2 separate regions of the Homo sapiens genome follow, and region 2 is linked to region 1. Evidence: promoter capture Hi-C in 16 types of primary human blood cells and fetal thymus (Javierre and others, 2016). All regions are on one chromosome and are shown on one strand. The core of a region is centred on a gene start or on the middle of the fragment in contact, and the rest is flanking DNA. Distances in the headings are between cores, read along the strand shown. Region 1 holds the start of CRIM1 (cysteine rich transmembrane BMP regulator 1). Region 2 overlaps LINC01317 (long intergenic non-protein coding RNA 1317).

Region 1 (7,969 bases), core at 5,470-7,969:
GGTGGGTAGCATTGCAACAGATGGAAATTCCTCCTCTTCACTATAATGCATGACCGGGTCCTCTCTTCTCATTTTCTTATACTTGTTTTTTCCAGCTTTCCAAAAAATGTCTGTAAGCGCAGGATAAATTTCCTTAACCTGTGGAGGGTCTCGATAATTTATTCCCTTTTATTAGTTCAGTTTTATAAAAAACACTCCTTCCTGGGAGAAATTTTTAATTGAGTACATAACACTTTCTTTAAAAACCACACAGCAAATAATTTGCCAGGTTACATGATTTGGCAATTTGTAAGGTTAAAACATTTGGTGATCCACAGCTAAACTCTCCTAATGTTGAACATTTTAAAGGATGGAATGAAATAATAAATGTGAAAGGAATTTTTTATGTTAAAAAAAATTTTAAAGCTTTACAATGTAAGGTGCTTTTAAAGCAAGAAGAAATGGTTTTTAACCTGAAGGGCCTCTACACTGGAGAGATGGGAACTTGTATTAAGTGTTTGAGGAAATTTGCGTGAATAAGTTTCTGGAAGGCAATCTGGCCATGCATGTCAAAGTGGGCATAACTTTTGACCCACAAACAATAATTTCACTTTAGGTATTTGCCAAGGAAAATAATTGGACAAGTGTTTGAAGATTTGGCTTAAAGGAAATATATTGCAGCTTTGTTTATAATAGTGAAAATGTAAAGCACACAAAACCCCTAAACTTATGTTAATATGGAATCAGTTAAATATAATGCAATATGTACATTCAGTGGAATAACAATCAATGGTAAAAAGGATGCAGTTATTGATTCTAAAGATCAATATGCCATGTATATGTGAAAGTTAAAGCCAATTTTGAGGTAGATACATATCCCATTTTATATTTTATACTGTATGGGGAAAATAAACCTTCAAGGATGTGTCACAAATGTTATCAGTGGTTTTATCTCACCTGAGATAAAACCATTATAGGTGATGTTTTTCTTTCTTCTTTTTTTCTTTTTTACTTGTCTGTCTTTTCTCTTTTTTCCCCCAGTGAGCATGTATTTGTTAAAAAACATACATTAGAAGTAATATTGCATAGAGTGGATTCTGTCCCCATACTGCCTAGGTTTGAATTCCAATTTTTCCTTTACTGGAAAAGTAAGAGACAGTGTGTCACTCTGTCACCCAGCCTGGAAGGCAGTGGTGTAATTTCGGCTCACCTCAGCCTCAACTTCACAAGCTCATGCAATCCTGCCACCTTAGCCTCCTGAATACAGGCACATCCCACCATGCCTGGCTAGTTCATTATTATTATTATTTTGTAGATATGGGTTCTCCTTATGTTGCCTAAGCTGGTCTCAAACTCCTGGGCTCCAGCGATCCACCCAGTTTGGCCTCCCAAAGTGCTGAGATTGCAGGCATGAGCCACCGCACCCACCCCAATTTTTCCTTTTAAATAGGTGTAAATGTACCTGTAAAATGCAGTACCTACCTCATCAGCTTTTATGGAGGATTAAATGTGGTAATATTGTAAGGTAATTAAAAAATATGCACATGGCAAACGTTACATAAATATTTGTTATTCAGTAGTTAGGAAAGCAATGATCTTATTTCCATTTTGAGAAAACGCTGATCAGTATTTAAACTTCTCAAAGAAGACAAGATATTGTCATAGATGTTAGCAATTTTAAATGAGGTCCACAAAAAACAACAAAACTGAAAAGAAAAGCAGCTCACCATTACCCAACTTACTGAATTGAGGTAGTTAAACACACAGGCCCTTAAGGCAGAATAGGACTGAGTTCTAAGCTTAATATCCATACACATAGCTCTGAGACCTTGACAAGCCACACAACCTCCTATAACTCAGATTCCTCACCTGTAAAAAATGAAGACAACGTAAGGCACTAGAGATAATAGAAACCATTGGTCTTACAGCGCTCTTCCGTAGATTACTTAAAATAACCTATATGAAGCACTTAGCATGTTGACTAGCAATTAATAAGATCTTTATTAGTGTCAGCTATTACTATTATCATTACCAATTACTGCTCTTTAAAATAAGTCAGAGACCAAAATGAGTCTGAGAAAATATCACAGAGGCTAAAACCCCAAGATGAGACAGACTGTCAAAACAAGGCCAACAGAAGATCCTAAGAAAGAAAAAAAAAAAAGCAAATATCTGATCCAGCAGATGTTGCACAGCAATGGATGCTAAGATAACAGAGAGCAGGGATTCCAGCTCAAGCATAAAACTTGAGGAGACACTCAATTAGAAGGACTCTAAAAATAACAATAGAAAAGGAGAGCAATCATTTTATCCACACGATACCCTGTATGGTTGGTATTCTTGTCTCTGTTTTACAGAGAAGACAGATTCAGAAAGGATAAATACCTTGTTTAAACTTGTACACAGAGAGAGAGAGAGAGAGAGAGAGAGAGAGTGTGTGTGTGTGTGTGTGTGTGTCAGGATCCTAGGCCAAACATCAAAGAGAACCTGTGTTCTGTGCAGATGTCTTGTAAACCTTGTGGTAGTTCTGCAGCAGCTATCATTCACAGGCAGAGTAAATAAGAACCCACTTAGCAAAAATAAGGTATTACGTGGTGATAATAGAGTTCAATTTCAGATTAAGAGTCCAACATCCAGATGGTTGAGCCTCCAAACTAGGGTCTGTCTATATCACTGCAGTGCCAAGCCTAGATTAAGTGAGAACCCATATATAGGTGATCCCAGCTGAGGAGACCAGAGAGATGGCCTAAGAGGGTAAAACGGGCCAGACCTGCTACCCTGGTTTATTCGTACCACTTTCTAATATGTATGCAACGTTTTCATAACACAATGAGGTTTCTTCTCTTGTGCAACTCAATTCCAAGAGTATGTGAGTCAAACTCAAAGGCAACTTCTACATTCTTCTTTTCATTTCAGGAAGAGAAAATACAAAGTGCAACTCAATTCCAAGAGTATGTGAGCCAAACTCAAAGGCAACTTCTACATTTTTCTTTTCATTTCAGGAAGAGAAAATACAGAGTGTGACTATAGGTGGACTAGACACTGTATCGGAAAGGCGGGGTCTAATACTAACATTCTGTCTATTGCCCTCTCATTTCCACTTTCTGCTTAGGCCAACAAATGGGCACTTTGATTTTCGACATTTTCAACAATTTATTAATCCCCAGGATGGCCAATAGAGGGCAGACGATCTCTTCTTCTAGACCTCCATCAGAAATACTTCGTAATTCCTGGTTCGTTGCAGACCTGTTCCCCAACCCCTCCCCCACCCCCCCACCACCCCCACCCCAAACTTCGATGACTCCCTCCTGCCCATACCATCCCTTTCAAGTACTGATTTTGAGGTATTTACTAAAACCAAGAGAGAAGGGCTGCAGACAATAATATTCAAATATCATTTTGACTGTAATTCTTCACTCTCCCTTTTTCAACTCATTCATGCATGCATTTTTATAAATCCTGCCCTCTCCAATAAGCTGACAAGCTAATTGGGTTCAGAGTTATTTAAATAACTATAATGTAACATGATAAATGCTACAAGCAGAGGTACTTACAAATGCTGTAGAACAGATAAAGAAGCTCAAGAAGGCTTCTCAGAAAGGGAGGCCTTTCATGTGTGGCTCTAATTCTTAACATTCGTTCATGACTTTCAGGGTCCATTCAATTTCAGGGTAATTCTTCCTAGTCCACTTTCACCCGTGACACCTGATTGTCATCATGTTGGGCTCACCCAAACTCTTTCTGTAACCATAGTCTGGTCTTTGAAGATAAGAAAATACTTTTGTATTCGAGCCTCAGTATCATTGCCTCAGCTTCTCACTACCTCATTATCATCCCTCCTGGATCCCAGAGAAGAAAGAGCTGTTTCATAACTGAGCTCCTGATTCACACACTGGTTTCAGAAAAGCTGCCAGGACCTTGCAGGTTTCTCATTCGCCACTAGTCACTGGCTTCAAGGAATCCTATTTTCTCTATTGCTTCTATGACTATTAATTTTATGCCAAAGGGCATGTGTAATGTAACTTGATTTTTTTTTTCTTTTTGAGCTGATACAATCATCTTCATCTTAAAGAATCTCCCTAGTCCTTTCTAAACCTGACTTGAATTCCTGTGAGAAGTCAACCTTTCTCATGTTGTATCTGTCCATCTACCTTCCAGGTGGTTCTACTTCTGAAGTCCCAGGAACAATGAATAGTCATCTCCAAATTATCCTTTGCCTGTGCTCATCTGTAGCTTTCCTTAATCCTTAATATATCCCCTTAAAAATAAATAGAAGCTAAACTTTGACAATGCTTATTACCTCCTTCTTTCCTAACCACAGTAGCTTTCTCACTTCTGCCTTTTTCTCATCACCTGACCTTGGCTTTTCCTGCAGGTCCTACAATGTTATCTGCTACATTTTAATGTCTTTATACTTGCATTTGAACAGAAATACAGATAACCTCCTCTGCAAGAGTGGGAGGGACCTTTTAACACAGAGCAATGATGACAGTTTGTTGGCAAATCCCACACTGAAGTGCTGGTGCCTTGTTCGGTGACAAGAAAGAACAATGTTTAACAATGTGTGTTTTATTTTTCTTCAGTTTTTTTGTTTGTTTGTTTTTGAGACAGAGTCTTGCTCTGTCGCCCAGGCTGGAGTGCAATGACGCAATCTCGGCTCACTGCAACCTTCACCTCCTGGGTTCAAGTGATTCTCCTGCCTCAGCCTCCTGAGTAGCTGGGATTACAGGCATGCGCTACCACACCCGGCTAATTTTTGTATTTTTGATAGAGACAGGGTTTCACCATGTTTCACCATGTTGGCCAGGCTGGTCTCGAATTCCTTACCTCAAGTGATCTGCCCACCTTGGCCTCCCAAAGTGCTGGGATTATAGGCATGAGCCACCACGCCCAGTCTCTTCGGTTTTTCTAATAGAAAACCTAGCATATTTTAAACGATTTTGCCACTTAACACTTATTATGGACCCACAGGGTATGAGGGCCTTTGGAGATCATCTAATCGGACTTCCCACCCAACTACAGGAATCATTTCATTGCAACAACTCTTTAAACCCGTCTAGAAAATGCAATGCTCTCTCCCCTTTTCCACGGTTGAACATCTTCCTCATGGCCCTATAATAATCAATGATAATTAATGAGCCTCTTCCTCTCCTTGGACAAAGAAATATGATAGGAGAAATGTTTAGTTTGCTGATGCCCATCATGGGGGAATAGTCCACTGGTAACTCTGGCTTTTGGGTTCAGGATTAGACAGAGTGGTTAAACTAAAATATTTATCGTAAGTATGAATTTGTTCCACAAACATAACATTTCAAAGGTAGCTTTGTTTCCTCTTTCCTTGCACTGCCAGCTATTAACTTTCGGTTCATTAGTCACGATTTTCAGAATCCACTTGGCTGCCACCTTCCTGCAGCCAGACCATCTTGGATCAGAGGGTGGGCCAGCCATTCCCACGTCACACCTGCCACGGGATCGATTTTTTCCCCCATTGACCACAGTCACTTTTTGTCAATTAATTAATGTTATTCACCTGGTACCCATCTTGTGAATGGTAGGTCACTACGGAGCGGATTACTACTTCATATCCCATCAATGACAGAGCCATCATTACGAAAACCTTTTCTGACAACCACTGAAGAGAAACCATCTCCACACCGTGCATTTTGCATCACTTCCGTTGCTTCTTTACCTGATTTATCACAAAGACTATGTACCACACATCTTCTTTATTAATGCATTGACAATCAGTGAAGACAATGAAAACCCACCACTTTTGTCCGTGAACTGAGAAAGAAAATGGCAATGTCATATGGCATTAATGATGCATGAGATCTATGGGTGTAGTGTCACGTCTAGGCGTGTAGTAATCCAGTCTTCGGCCTTACTCCAGGGAGAAAGATTCAGCTTTGTTACTTTCCAGTCACTCTCTCCCGTAACACAGCACCTTGGCACAGAAAGCAGAGCGACAAAACCCAGAATGAGGACAGTTAAAATTCAACTCAAGCTACAGCCATCCCAACGGTCCTCCCCAGCTCCCGCGGAATATTTACCAAGACCGTTTAAAGCACTTAATTAATTCACTTCAGCTTCGCTGGAGAGGTCTCAGGGTTCCCGAGACTCCATTACATAATATCTTTCACAAAGTCTATTCCCAGCTCGAATGGAAGATGGATTCTCATCCAGTGTGCGGAGGTTCCATGCCTTTGCTTCCCTTTCCCGGAGTTCGATCCGGCGATACCCTCCCGAGGCTGCAGCCATCGCCCCGGCCCCGAGCTTCTGGGGTACCCGCCACTCTTCGAACTCCAATCTGGCCCCGAAGGTGCAGCCGCCTCGCCCTCCTGGCTCCCAGGCCGGCCGCTGCGGCCACGGTGCCAGCGAGCGCCCGGGACACCGCGACTCTCGCTGCTCGCTGGGTGCGCCCCAAGCCCATCCGCAGCGCACCCGCGGCGCCGGGGCCAGAGCCGCAGCTCGGTGGCACGGCCGGCTCGGTGCGCCGGGCTCGGGGAGGAGGAGATCGGGAAGAGGTGGAGGCGTGTGAGGGAGGGAGGAAGGGCCCGGCCGCCCGAGAGGGGGAGGGGGAGGCGGAGGGGGCCGGCCGGGCCGGGGAGGGGGGGCAGCCAATGAGCGGCGCGCGGCGCGTGGGGGTGGGGGGAAGGTCTGGGGGAGGAGGTAGGATGGGGGAGGGCGCAGCCCGAGCGGCTGAGGCTCCAGCCATAAACAAGCGCCCGGAGGAGCGGCGCAGGAGTGAGGCGAGCGGGGCGCGCGGAGCGGACGCCGCGGATCTTGTGCTGCGCCACCGCGCCCACTCGGCAGCTCGGGAGGCGGGGACCGGCCCGGAGGCTGCGCCGCTGCGGGGCCGGCCGACTCGGAGGAGGAGAGGGAGGAGGCGCCGCCGGCCCGGGCTGGAGCCGAGCGCAGCAGCCACCGCCGCCGCCGCGCCAGAAGTTTGGGTTGAACCGGAGCTGCCGGGAGGAAACTTTTTTCTTTTTTCCCCCTCCCTCCCGGGAGGAGGAGGAGGAGGAGGAGGGGAAGCTGCCGCCGGCGCCAAGGCTCGTGGGCTCGGGGTCGGCGCGGCCCGCAGAAGGGGCGGGGGCCTCGCCCCGCGAGGGGAGGCGCGCCCCGGGGGCCCCGAGAGGGGCGGTGAGGACCGCGGGCTGCTGGTGCGGCGGCGGCGGCGCGTGTGCCCCGCGCAGGGGAGGGCGCCCGCCCCGCTCCCGGCCCGGCTGCGAGGAGGAGGCGGCGGCGGCGCAGGAGGATGTACTTGGTGGCGGGGGACAGGGGGTTGGCCGGCTGCGGGCACCTCCTGGTCTCGCTGCTGGGGCTGCTGCTGCTGCTGGCGCGCTCCGGCACCCGGGCGCTGGTCTGCCTGCCCTGTGACGAGTCCAAGTGCGAGGAGCCCAGGAACTGCCCGGGGAGCATCGTGCAGGGCGTCTGCGGCTGCTGCTACACGTGCGCCAGCCAGAGGAACGAGAGCTGCGGCGGCACCTTCGGGATTTACGGAACCTGCGACCGGGGGCTGCGTTGTGTCATCCGCCCCCCGCTCAATGGCGACTCCCTCACCGAGTACGAAGCGGGCGTTTGCGAAGGTACGGCCGCCCGCTGCGGGCCCCCTCCCACCTGGCCTGCGCCGCCCCCTCGGCGCTGGTTGTGCCGAACAAAGTTTGGGCGAGACTTTCTGGAGGAAAGAGGGCTCTGCGGGAAGAGGGGCGGCCGCCGCCCCCAGGAGAGTGCCCCCGCGGCCCTGCGTTCCCTCTCCTTGTTCCCCCCGACGCTTAGGCAGTCGCGGGCGAGGTTGGGTATGGTGGGTGGGGGCGAGCGAGTGGAGGATCGCCCCTGTCCCCGCGCAGACGCGCACACGTGTGGCCGTTCCTGCTGGGACTGGGTGGCCCGGCCTTGCTCCCCGAGGTGGGGGCGCCGCGGGCGGGGGGCACTGCAGATTCTGCCGCGCGCGAGCCCCTCGGGGAGCCCGGCCCTACCGCCCTCCCCGCAC
Region 2 (7,969 bases), core at 3,845-6,344, 2.3 Mb before region 1:
TGCTGTAAGTATTAGAAATTTATCTGGTATAATTTGAACCAGCAGGTATGACTAGTCCCAAAAAGAGGAGGTCTCAAGATGCAACAGCTACTGGGTATGGTGATAGGAAATTACATCAGATATTAAGACTCAGGGTTAAGCTTATCAGTAATCTGGATGTATTTGGAATTGAAAGTAGGGAAATATGAATTTTAAACTTTATGACACTAATATTCTAAACATGTCGCTGTACCATTTAATTATAAGGTGCATTAGTCAGAATTCTCTAAAGAGACAGAACCAATAGGACAGGTAAATATATGAAGGGGAGTTTATTAGGAGATTTGACTCACACGATCACAAGGTGAAGTCCCACAACAGGCTGCCTGCAAGTTGAGGGGACAGGAAGCCAGTCCGAGTCCCAAAACCTCAAAAGTAGGGAAGCTGATAGTGCAGCCTTCAGTCTGTGGCTGAAGGCCCAAGAGCCCTTGGCAAATCACTGGTGTAAGTCCAAGAGTCCAAAAGCTGAAGAATTTGGAGTTTGATGTTTGAGGGCAGGAAGCATCCAGCATGGGAGAAAAATGGAGGCCAGAAGACTTAGCCAGTCTTGTCCTTCCACGTTCCTCTGCCTGCTTTCATCCTAGCTGTGCTGGCAGCTGATTAGATGGTGCCCACTCAGATTCAGAGTGGGTTTGCCTCTCCTAGTCCACTGACTCAAATGTTAATCTACTTTGGCAACACCCTCACAGACACCCAGGAACAATACTTTGCATCCTTCAATCAAGTTGACACTCAATATTAACCATCACAGGAGGAATTTGACTGTATCCACTTTCTCTCTGGGTATTCTGTTGTTTTCACCAAAACATTCATGGAGAAGGGCCATAGTATGTTTATTCATTCAACAATTTTTTTTTTTTCAATGTGTATTGTGAGATTGGCGCTGTGCTAGTAGCAGAACATAGGTTAGTAGGGGACAAAAGGATATAGAACTGTCTTGTGTGGGAATACAGACAATGGCATATAAAAGTATCAAGCTGTACTGATTGCTACACATGCTTTAAAGTGAATTAAGTGCCATGGTAGAGAATAATAGAGCAGGAATGACATGGTAGGTGAAGGAACCCACTTTAGACACAGTGGTCAGAAAAGATTTTTCCAAGCAGTTGACTCTTATGCTAAGACCTCAGGGTGAGATTGAGCCAGCTACAGGAAGTGGAAAAAGCATCCCACGGAGAGGGAACTGCATGCATGAAGACCCACAGGCAGGAGAGGCCTCGGAGGTAAAAGGAACTGAAGATGTCCAGGAAGACTTAAAAGATTGCAGAGTAAAGAAGGAGTCACATCACAAGAATCCACTGGGAGCCACATATCAGAAGCAGAAATTTTATTTTCAGTGCAATGGGAAGCCATCACAGGGTTTAAGAAGAAGGACCTCATGATCTGATCCACACATTAAAATGATCTTTCTGGCTGATTCGTGGAGAATAATTGTGGTAGCAGAAAGAATAGAAGCAATAGTCTATGTAAGAAATGATGATGGTATGGGAAGAGAAATGATTGGATTGAGTTATAGTTTGGAGGAAAAAAGTGGCAGAAAATATTAATCAATTGAGTGCGGGATGTTAATGGAGAGAAATAAATCCTGAATGACTCCCAGATTTCTAGATTGAGCACTTGGATGAACTACAACACAATTTACCGGAAAGGAAAAAACTTAGGAGAAAAAGATTCGAGGAGAGATGGACTACTAAGTATTCAACTGTGGGCACGTTATGCTTCAGATACCTATAAGCCATCAAAGTGGATATTTCAGGTAGGTAATGGGACATGTGTATGTTTAAAGATGAGAACAATGATCTGTGTGAGAAATAAATTTTGGAGTTGATGACACTTAAATGATATATAGTCAGAGTAAAGCATAAGATCATTTAGAAAAGAAAATGACCAGGGGAAAAAATGAAAATCCATCACAGAGCTCTGAGGAACTCCAAAATTTAGATTTCAGGTGGATGAAATAGAGATCTTGGTGCTGAAGTGAGAATTATCCTGGTATGACAACATGATATCTGGTTACATTTTCAAAATGACAGGAATGCAAAATAACAGTTTCCATTTATGAAGCACTTACTGTGGCAGCCGCTCCTCCAAGTGCTCTGCCTACATTGACATATTTTATCCTCACTACAATCTTATGTAGCAGGTACTACTGCTATCACCCTCATTATAGAGATGAGGAACCCAAAACCTAGAAAGAATAATTGCTATAGTCTGAATGTTTGCGTCCCTCCCTTGCATATTCTTGTGTTGAAATCCTAAAGCCCACGACAATAGTATTAGGCCATAGGGGATTTGGGAGGTGATTAGGGTCATGAGGCAAAGCCTTCATGAATGGGATTAGTGCCTTTATAAAGAGAACCAACAGAGACCTCTCACCCACTTCCAGCATGTGAGGAAACAGCAAGAGGGCACTATCTATGAACAAGGAAGGGGCCCCTTACCAGACTCTGAATTTACTTGTACCTTGATCTTGAACTTCCCAGTCTGCAGAATTGAGAGAAATAAGTTTCTGTTGTTTATATGCCATGCAGTTTATAAGATTTTGTTGTAGTAACCTGAACAGGCTGAGACAATGACTAACTTGCTTAAGGTTACAAATGGAGTCAAGATTTGGATGCAAGCAGCCAGGCTCTAGAGTCTGCTCATAATTATGTAACTATTTTGCCTCATAAAATGCTCTTTACACATTGTATAGTATATTATCCCAGGTAGCATAGGTTTTGAAACCAGGCTAAATCTAAGGATGCGCATAACTAGTAGCATCTTGGCATGGTTTGCTTTAAACAATTAGATAATTCACCGTAAGGGGAAAGAAAGCCAGAGTGCACAAGTATTAACCAAGGATAAAGTCTCATAATAGCATCTGTTTCTTGATAATTCTCTGACAAGTACAATGAATTCTGGTCCTAGTGATAGAAAGCTGCAAGCAAAAATGGGTTAGTGTTTCCATGCTCTCTCTCAGACAGTGGGAGCACGAGGCAAACTCTGCAACCAAGTGTAACACGGAAGTAGGTGTCTGTTCCTTCATTTCAGCTGAATCCACAGAGTGGTTTCTGGGTCTGGAGGGCTCAGGCATAGTGGCTGGGGCTTTCAGCCCTTGGATTCTTTGGGAATTTAGTGGTAGCAGATCAAGGAGACAGCGGCTTTGGTTATGGCAGCGTGTGTTCTACAGCAGCTTCATGGACTCTGTGTGAGCTTCGTATCATGTGGGAGAAACTTTATTGTGGATTTTCAGGTATCAGAAAGTTTAGAAGACATTCTGGGAGACAGAATAAGGGATAGAAAAAATAATATAAACCATGTGTGTCAGCTACTAAGTTATTTTTTCTTGGCTCCACATTCACCCTTGTAAATTCACCTCGAGTTGCTGGAGAGCAACTCTGAAACCATGTCTGCTTCCAGCTGGGTCCATGTTAGGCTCTGCCAACAGGAGATACCAGAGGGAGACTTCAGAGCTGTAGGAGAAAAGAGATTTTCTCGTTCATCTTTGCTTCCTGTGAACTTCCTGTCTGCTTGCTGTTCTTGGGGGTGTCACTTCAGCCTTACTTTTTTTTGCCCCAGCTACAGCAGCACCTTCCTATAGAAGCAGCTGAACCCAGATTGAAGTTTCCAGCACCTGAAGAAAAAGCTTCTTTGTCTTGTTCTTAAAAATCTGGGTCTAAGTTCTATGGTGCCCTCCTCCAAGCTCAGAGACACCAGCAGGCCAGCAGTCTTTCCTCAAATGGCTGAGTTTCAGCTTCACAGGATCCCTTGTAGGTTTTAATACTTCCAATCTCTTCCTTTTGTTCCCTGGCTTTTGGAGTGATAGCTGCCTCTTGCAGGTACTATTCTCATTATACTTTAGAGATCTCTTTTTATTCTTTGATTTTTCTAGTTATCAACTACTTATCTAGTTAAGGCATCTTTGTATTAAATTTTCCCTGTTCAAATAACTGATGTGGTTTCTGTCTCTTGCCTGGGCCCTGATGGATACATCATGTGTGTTGATGAGAATGCATTAAACCCACGGACAGGAAGGATACTGCCAGAAATGGTTGTGAAAAGAATTTACCTGCCATCTGGTCCTCTCCATAACATGACTATTTGCTTTCCTAAGGCTGTCAGGAGAATCTCTGTGGGTTCAAAGCTCTTTCTTCCAGAAGGGTCCAGTCCCTTTTATGGGATCACCTGGTTAGGTCAGGTTTACCTAGGATAATCTCCCTTTTGATTAACTCAATGTTGATTTACTTGGCACTTTACTTAAATCTGCAAAATCCCTTCAGCTTTGTCAGCTAATTTAACCTAATCATGGGAGTAAGATCCCTCATATTCACGGACCTACTCATATTCAGGGAGAGAAGATTATACAGAGCATGTGCAATGGGGGTGGGAATCTTGAGATCTACCTTACGATTCTGCCTACCAGAAAGACGGTAATTACCTACCAAGGTGAGTTGGCTTCAACCTCCTGAATCCTGAACATACTTGGGATCATCTGGGCATGGTTAATTTGTATGTTTCTCATTTAAGTATGTAGATTGGAAGCTACTTCAATCTAAGTGATCTCATTTACCCTTCCTCCAGAGTAGACCACAGCTGCTCTAGAACTGAATCGCGAGAGCACATGCTGAGTGAGTTGATTTGGCAATGGACGCATACTCCATTCTATCTGAACGCTAGTTGAAATGGTTTTTGCAATGGCATTGCTAAGCTGAGTTGAAACTAAAATGTTGCAGCTTGTGGAAATCCCAGAGGTGGCAGAAGCTCAGAGTGAATGATTACCTGAAAAGCCAGCATAACCTTTTGCAACATACATAAGTTCACAATATAGATTCATTATAATTTTTCGTCCAAAGTAATGCATATCTTCTATTACCATTATTAGTTTACTAACTAGTACCTTTTATATAGCAAGTATGCAGCAGATATTTGTTAAACCAAATTGCCTTTTCAGAATGGTTGCTTATATGTATCTGAACCAGCACATACACAATTAGAATTACCATGACCTTGAGCTCTCCCAAACTTGCTTTTAAACTATTAAAAGTATAAAAACATCAAATCGCTTTTGTCTAGATAATTATATTTCTGACTAAAGTGACCACTGTACCTTTAGAAATCATGCTCATTTGTCAGTAGCAAGTACTGTAATTATTCACTGTATTGTTCACAAGAGTGAACAACTTGCTTTTTGTCATCCAAAGGCTAAACAAAATAAAATTACCCAATAGCTCTGCAGTGAGTTGCTGAAGGTATTTCATTCCCGTGGTGCTTATGAGTAATCCCATGCATAGAAACAATACCAAAAAAGCATTCTTATCTTTTGAGACAACAATAATTTCCCATAGTTCTCAGGACTCATTTGGTCTTGCCACATTGTTTTCCAAAAAACATTGTTAGTTCCTTGGGTTATTAATAGGAGTTACTGACAAGAAGGTTTCTGTATTAGTTCATTCTTACACTGCTATAAAGAAATACCCGAGACTGGTTAATTTATAAAGAAAAGAGGTTTAATTGGCTCATGGTTCCACAAGGTGTACAGGAAGCATGGCAGCATCTGCTTCTGGGGAGGCCTCAGGGAGTTTTACTCATGACAGAAGGCAAAGCAGGATCAGGCATATTACATGGCAGGTGCAGGACTGGGGGTGGCGGAAGTACTAACACATTTTTAAACAACCAGATCTCGCGAGAACTTTATCACTATATAGTACCAAGAAGGCAGTGGTGCTAAACCGTTCATGAGAACTCCACCCCCATGATCCAATCACCTCCCACCAGGCCCCGCCTCCAACAGTAGGGAATTATGATTTGACATGAGATTTGGTGGGGACACAGATCCAAACCATACCAGTTCCTGTTGCATAGAATGTTGGGAAAGGTAGCATGCTTTGCACTGAACCTACACCCCACCAAAGGATCACAATTTAAATTAGCAATTAAAAAACTCTAAGCCTTCATAAAAACAGGTATTTCTCAGCTAACTTGTCCATAGACACTACTTTTACCCTCCTCAGTGGCTCTGTGGACATCTAATTGTAATCCAAGAAAATAAAGTTGCTGAAATACACTTTGAGGAATGCTAGATAGATTAGCAAGGCATTTAATAACAAGGGTTGTAATTATTTGTTCTAGGCAGAGTTCTTCTAATTGGGGTGGGTGAATTGGGAGAATAAACGTTGATTGAGCACTCGTTACAAATGGAACAGTGCACAACATCTCTTCTTAATGTTTAGCTGTTCCTAGAAGAGAGAGAATCTGAATCCTATTTTGCAAATGCAGATGCTGGGGTTCAAGAGAATAAAACGTCTACAGGCAGTCATGTAGCCTATCACATACAAGGTCTGGGCCCTTGGCACTACTTAACGTGCACTCTCATGTATAGAACCCTCAAAAACAAAATTGCTGACAGCACATTTTCACTTTTGTTATGAAAACATAGATTTCAAGAAAGGGCCCTGTAGAAGTTCTTGGAGAAAAATTAAGAGCCTATTCAAGTCTTCAAGTGAAGCTTTGAATATTGTAGGTTAGGCAGGGACACATCAATACTTTTATTAACTAGGGCCACTGAGGTTGAGAATGATGAGTGCTAGTTGAGCTGGATGTCAGACCAGAATACCGTCTGCCTTTTGAGATGAAATGACCACCTCCAGCTCCTAAAAAGAAACTGTTCCCAAGCTTTATTAATGTTCTGACTCCATCATTTGGATCCTGACTGGGTATGTGCCGCCTTGTGAGATTTTGATTAAAATTGTGCCTTCTGGAATTTTCTCCTTAAAGAAAAGGTAAGTACTCAACCAATCTCTGAAACATGCGTCAGCAATAGTTGATAAATACTTTAAAGATTTTATTTCCCTGAGATATACTGTAAGCAGAACAATTTAGGGAAATAATTTCTTAGGGGAAAAAAACTTATAGCTAGTTTACTGAGGACTCTGACGTATAATGGTAGTCTATATTTTGAGGACTGTCTTCTCTGTATTATATTTTAGGCCTTTTTTTGGAAAAATTGCTCTTGTGCTATAACCTGCTGGAGTGATTTTGAATAATAGTGTTAAGAAAAGGCAGTTTGTTGAGGTTCAGGGTTTTATTTGTTTCAGTTAGTAGGGAGAGCAGTATTAATATGTATTACAATTGCACAGTAAGAAAAACAGGATGTGTTTATTTTTTCCATGGGTATGATATATGATGTGGTTTCAAATCTCAAATGTTACTCAATTTCATATATACGGGCATTTAATCAAGATGGACTTTAAAATATCACATATGATATTACCAATTACTGTTACCATGAAAGGTGAGGAAGATTTCTTTAGTTGAATTATTTATAACCAAAATGGCCCAGATACAGGCTTGCTGCATGCTTTCTCCAGGAAAATGCCTCAGTCACCTTGTCATTGAATGACTGAGCCTTATTTCCCCTGTATTTCATTGTACTCCAACCAGCTCAGCCAAGCACAAAAGTGCAACCCCACAGACAACAGTTCATTGCACTTGGCAAGTCTTCCCATTAAGCAGGAATGTTTACCGTATTTATATTTGTGTATGTACTGTACTCATAAACATGCAAGCTGTACTCATTTCTGTTATGATTTGTGGCTTCTAAAATCAATCAGTCACCTAGATAACAGGCTACCTGGTTTCTTCCCATGCTATGATGAGGTATGAGTATATCTGTCTATGTGTATAGCTCAATGAGATTATTCTCATTTACTGCTACTCATTAGAATTCCTTAGCAATCTTAAAAAAGAACAAAAGCGGGATATTAACAGAACAATTACATCAGAATATCTGGCAGTGGGATGAGGGTATAATTATTTACTTACGTACTTGTTTTAGACTTTTTATTTTGGAATATCTTTAACATATATGTGGAAGTGAAAAAAATAAAATAATGAATCTACAGGATGATGTAACCATTGCTCAGCATCGACAATGTCTGATTCATTGTTA

The links. The method cuts DNA at HindIII sites, captures the fragments that hold promoters and counts their contacts. A CHiCAGO score of 5 or more calls a contact.
Region 2: a fragment that was not itself captured here is called in contact with the fragment with the promoter of CRIM1 in region 1 in 7 of 17 cell types (total CD4 T cells, naive CD8 T cells, non-activated CD4 T cells and 4 more); the score reaches 12.6 in total CD4 T cells.

The regions. Positions count from the first base shown.
Region 1 is chr2:36,349,059-36,357,027 of GRCh38, forward strand. It overlaps CRIM1 (cysteine rich transmembrane BMP regulator 1), which reads left to right and starts at 6,720. Exons shown (of 17, transcript NM_016441.3): 1 at 6,720-7,565. The coding sequence starts at 7,235. It overlaps CRIM1-DT (CRIM1 divergent transcript), which reads right to left and starts at 6,512. Exons shown (of 2, transcript NR_037631.1): 1 at 6,030-6,512; 2 at 5,691-5,923. The HindIII fragment of the contact is 11,087 bases long and covers 1,777-7,969 here.
Region 2 is chr2:34,097,227-34,105,195 of GRCh38, forward strand. All of the region lies in intron 4 of LINC01317 (long intergenic non-protein coding RNA 1317), which reads left to right. Among named protein-coding and RNA genes, the nearest start is that of LINC01318, 34 kb to the left of the region's middle. The HindIII fragment of the contact is 2,859 bases long and covers 3,666-6,524 here.